Regions from separate parts of the Homo sapiens genome. Here region 1 is linked to region 2. The links are contacts of gene promoters, found by promoter capture Hi-C in blood cells and fetal thymus (Javierre and others, 2016). All regions are on one chromosome and are shown on one strand. Each heading gives the region's core, a stretch centred on a gene start or on the middle of the fragment in contact. The rest is flanking DNA. Distances are from core to core; before and after follow the strand shown. Region 1 holds the start of PLBD1-AS2 (PLBD1 antisense RNA 2). Region 2 has its middle 100 kb from the start of ATF7IP.

What was found. Contacts are between HindIII fragments. The CHiCAGO score rates a contact against its expected background, and 5 or more counts as called.
Region 1: the fragment with the promoter of PLBD1-AS2 here is called in contact with a fragment that was not itself captured in region 2 in 1 of 17 cell types (neutrophils); the score reaches 6.5 in neutrophils.

Annotation. Positions count from the first base shown.
Region 1 is chr12:14,528,801-14,531,500 of GRCh38, forward strand. It overlaps PLBD1-AS2 (PLBD1 antisense RNA 2), which reads left to right and starts at 1,339. Exons shown (of 5, transcript NR_187784.1): 1 at 1,339-1,441; 2 at 2,242-2,410. All of the region lies in intron 6 of PLBD1 (phospholipase B domain containing 1), which reads right to left. The HindIII fragment of the contact is 11,029 bases long and covers 504-2,700 here.
Region 2 is chr12:14,260,566-14,263,265 of GRCh38, forward strand. No RefSeq gene overlaps it. Among named protein-coding and RNA genes, the nearest start is that of ATF7IP, 100 kb to the right of the region's middle. The HindIII fragment of the contact is 4,043 bases long and covers 1-2,700 here.

The sequences.
Region 1 (2,700 bases), core at 89-2,588, 270 kb after region 2:
ACAGACATTAAGAGGTTAAGAAAAACATTATAAATAGCTTCATATCAATAAAAACAATAACTTAGAAAGAAGGGATAAATTCCTTGAAAGATACATTTTTAAAACTAACTCAAGAAGAGTTAGAAAACTGAAATAGTTCTGTAGCAGTGAAAGAAATTAAATTTACAATTAATAACTTTTCAACAAATAAAAACCTTCATATCTAGCTTCACGCGTGAATTCTATTAAACACTTAAAGAAGAAAATGGGCTGGGCACAGTGGCTCACACCTGTAATCTCAGCATTTTGGGAAACCAAGGCAGGAGGATCACTTGAGCCTAGGTGTTTGAGGCTGCAGTGAGCTATGTTCACACCACTGTACTCCAGCCTGGGGGACAGAGTGAGACCCTGTCTTTAAAAATAAATAAATAAATAAATAAATAGAATAAAATAACACTAATCATATACATGCTCTTAAAACACTTAGGAGAAAGAAATAATTCCACATTTAGGATATGAGGATAAGCTTATCCTAAAACAAAAACCATCATAAGAAAAGCAGACTACAAACAAATATGTCTCATGAATGTAAATGAAAAAAATCATTAACACGTTAGTAAACTGAACTAAAAATAAATACAGAGAATAACACATCATGACTGAGGATTAACCCAGGAATTTCAAGTGGTTTAACATCTGAAAATCAATCAATGTAACTTATCATATTAATAAAGGAAAAAATTCATATGATCTTTTCAACAATTGCTGAGAAAGAATTCAGAAAAATGCAACACTCATTTATTGATAAAAATATTAAAGAAAGTAGGAAGAGCAGGGACCTTCCTTAACATTATAAAGGGCATCTACAAAAAATCTGCAGTTAACATCATACTTAATGGTGAAAGACAATACTTTTCACCCTAGGTCAGGAATTGGGCAAGGATTTGCATGCTCACCACTTATGGTCTCCATTATTCTGGAGGTCTTCTCCAGCACAATCATACAAAAAAACAATCAAAGACATACAAGGGATGGAAGAAGTCAAACTGTCTTTATTTAGAGATGTCATGATTGTATATATAGAAAATCCCAAGGAATCTACAAAAAAGCTATTAGAAAGATCTCAGGATAATAATGTACAAAAAAATCGTAATACATTGTGGTAGTTTTCAAATTTCCACAAATTCTTTGGCACCCTTCTCTTTAAAAGGTGGATTCTAATCGCCTTTCCTTGAATGTGGGCTGGTCATAACACCTTGCTTCTAATTAATAGAACCTGGTGGAAGTGAGCGTGTGTGACGTCTGAGGTGAGGTCACAATAGGCATTACTATTTCTGCCTTGTTCTTTTGGATGGCTTCGTCTGGAGCCAGGGGTCTTGCCATGAAGGACATTCAAGCAGTTCTGAGGAGAGGCCCAAGTGAAGAGGAACCAGTTGCCAGCACCACCCTGTCAGCTATGTTAGTAAGTCGTTTTGGAAGTGCATGTTCCAGTCTCAGTTAAGCTATCAGAGATTTTAGCCCCTCAGTCATTGAGTCTTCCAGCTGAGGCCCCAGTCACAGTAGAGACAAATTATCCCCACTGTGCCCTATCTAAATTCCTGATCCACAGAAACCATGAGTAACTAAATCATTATTGTTTTTAGCCACTAATGTTTGGAGCAATTTGTTATGTGGCAATGGGTAACCAATAAATACATATGAGCAACAAACAACTGAAAAAAGAATAAAAAACATTTTGATTACAGTAGCATCAAACATTACTTAGGATTTAACTTACTTAAAGGTATGTAAGACCTAAATACTGAAAACTACATGATATGACTCAAATTAAAGACTGAAATAAACAAATAGATTATATTAGTAGATTGGAAGACTCAATGTTGTTGACAAGTAAATTTTCTCTGGATTGGTTAAAACTATCAGATCTTTGTGCTGAGGTCTTCACACAATTGTATTGGCTGCCATTTCAGTGCCGTCATTTTCTAGTGATTTATCTCTTTGTCTTACCTCCTTGATTATTAATTTGCATTGCCAAAATAAGTAAATGTGTGGGGAGGGCTAGTGCAAGGCTTCTCCATTCCTTACTCAGCCTTAGCTGTTACTAGGCAAACAGACCATGTATTCAAAACCCTTCTTGTTAGGGACAGAAACTCCTAGAACAAGGCCATTCAAAGCCACTTTCCTTTGGGTATCCAGTGCCTCAGGCAAGTGTTTTTTGTTGTTGTTGTTGTTTTGTTGTTGTTTGTTTGTCTTTTTTAACAGGGCCCCTGCCTATATAAACAATTTGATTAAAAACATATATTTAAAAATTCATCAGTACATGTGAGATATGATGATTTATCATTGAAGATTTAGGATGATGGGCAGAGAAAGGCAATCTGTTTTGTCTATTGTCCAATCAGTGCACGTGAAGATTTGTTACAGTATCCAGGTACCATCTCTTTGTATTCTTTATTATTAAATGCATTGTTCTTGGCTAATTTCCTATTTTTTGTTATGAGAAAAAGGTAGCAATACTGTTATTACAAAACCATGACTTTTTGGAACCTGTTTGTTTTGAAACAACACAGATCTCCTTGCCTCTGCAGTTCCCTAACACCATTTTCTTAATGACTTTGCGACATCTACCACTCTACCTGTGAATCCTGGCTTCTAATGACTCAAAAATCCTTATTATGCTTTGTTAATGATGACCACAAATGCAAGCCTTACCCAGAGTGT
Region 2 (2,700 bases), core at 133-2,632:
TAGAAGGCTTTGTGAAGGAGGCCCTGCCTTTGCCGACTTTGTGATAAACCTACCAGATAATGTGAGGAGGGTTGGTGTCCACGTGCTCGGGGCCTTGGGAGCCACCAGCGCTGGCTGGACTCAGCCGCTGCGCTCTGCTCCCTGCGCTCGCCCCTCCCCCGCACCCGCAAATGCAGCCAGGAGGAAGAGGCGAGGAGGAATGCAGGAGGCATTCCAGCCCCACCCCCGCAAGCCTCCTCCAGCGAGTTCCGAAACTACTGCTAAGTGGGCTGCAAGGAAGACAGTGAACCAGCTGGTGACTGTACTCCTCCAGGCTTTCACATGATCTACAGCCTGACTACACCCAGCGCATTGAAGGTTGTCCCTTGCTCTCTCTGAGCTAGGGTGTGACAGCCCTTAAAGATGAGGGTAACATCGCGGTAGTCAGTCCAGGCCTGCAAGACCAGGAACAACAGCAGTTACTGTATGCCTAATAACCGACGATTTTCCATCAGTGTCCACACTTACAAATAATGTCATTTTTTAATAGTTATATAAACCAGAAAGGTTAAGAGTTCGGCTACCTCGTGGCAATAAAAGTCCTGCTCTCTGTGTCTGGGTGTCCCCGAGGAGCCCAATCCATGACAAAATCGGAAAAGCCAGAACTAGACCTACACCTCTGCAGCAGTCCCTTTGTGCAGTGATGGAGGAGAGAGGGTCCCTCATTACTGGAGAAGTCATGGGTCGCACACTTTCCAGTCTACGCTAGAGATTTTGTTGCCCTAAGGTCACTTGGTGACAGGAAATGCAGTCCCTGCCCATCCCCCACCCCCAGGGACTAAGTTAAGAACCACTGCCAGAGAACCCTTGGAAGGAGTTAATTGGATGAACTATGGATATTAAATTAAGGCCCAAATATGTTGTCCATTCCACAGAAACTTTTTTTTTTTTTTTGACAGAGTTTCACTCTGTCACCAGGCTGGAGTGCAGTGGTATGATCTCGGCTCACTGCAACCTCTGCCTCCTGGGTTCAAGTGATTCTCCTGCCTCAGCCTCCCGAGTAGCCGGGACTACAGGCATGTGCCACCACGCCTGGCTAATTTTTTTTGTATTCTTAGTAGAGATGGGATTTCACCATATTGGTCAGGCTGGTCTTGAACTCCTGAACTCACGATCCACCCGCCTTGGTTTCCCAAAGTGGTGGGATTACAAGCGTGAGCCACCTTGCCTGGAAAGACACTTACATTTCAGTAGATAAAGTTAATTTACCCCGCTTTAGGAAGTCAAATTAATGGATCTTTGTAGTGAATTTCTAAAGACTCTTACATTGTTATAATCTTCCTCCCCAAAGTTTGATTCTTGTATTCAACATTAATTCAACATTCATTGAAAACTTCCTAACAACCAGGCAATATGGTACTATTGGCTACGCTGGGCTTGTGAGTTTTAAAAATCACATAAAGCGTGGAATGTACTTTCAAAGAGCTTACAGGCTGGGAAGATACACAGGAAGTCAGCTATTCCAGAGTGACATGGCATATCCTTTATAAGGATAGGAAAAAGAGGATGTGATATGGGAGAAAAGAGGAGGGACATGAAAAACAGTAAGGTTGAGTGGAGTGAGATATAGCCAGTGAGTTTCTCAGAAAGAGCTGAGAAATGAGATGGAGTTAGCTAGAATAAAACCAGAGCTAGCAGTCAGAAAAACAGAATTTTCTTTCTTTTTTTTTAGACAGAGTCTCACTCTGTCACCAGGCTGGAGTGCAGTGGCGCCAATCTCGGCTTACTGCAACCTCTGTCTCCCAGGTTTAAGAGATTCTCCTGCTCAGCCTCCCGAGTAGCTGGGATTACAGGCACTCACCACTATGCCCAGCTAATTTTTTGTATTTTTAGTAGAGACGGGGTTTCACCATGTTGGCCAGGCTGGTCTTAAACTCCTGACCTCATGATTCGCCCACCTCGGCCTCCCAAAGCGCTGGGATTACAGGCGTGAGCCACCGCGCCTGGCTAGAAAAACAGACTTTTCATTCCAGATGTATTAACAAACAGGTCAGCTACCAGCCAGAATTAAAAGAACTCAAACGCTAAGACAAAGCAAGGAGTCTGAAGTCCACTAGGTCAGTAGCTTTTCAGGACCTGAAACAGGTGGACTAGCCCAGCAGAAGAACAGATCTGTTTCCTTACCCAGAAACTTCCAAACATCCTATCAGGATAATAACTAAGCTACTAGCACGAAAACCCTGAGAAAAGGTGAGCTATTGACATGCAGATTTCAACATCCAAAGCACTTTAAAATTTCAACATGTTATTTATAACTTTAGATTTCTTAGCAAAACTACACATTACTGGACCTAATATTAGAAGAGTAATTATTAGATACATGATCATGAGTCAGTACTAATGTTTTCACTAAAGTTTTCAAGTAGTCTGCTAAGACCTGTTCACACATGCTAGGCTAAGATCTAGCAGCAATTAAGTTAGGATTTATCCCTGTGCCACATACCCTAACATCCAATCTATTTAACCACTTTGACTCTTAAAGGGCAAAGAAGAAAGAGAGATTCCTTAAAAGATACGGGGACTTGTAGGGGCTGAAGTAGAGAAAGTTTGTTGCTGTTGTAACATCCCAATTTCGAGTCCCTTAGTAAGCACGTTTTCCAGACCCTGATTTTCTTTTCTTTTTTTCTTTTTTTTTGAGACAGGATCTGGCTCTGTTGCCCA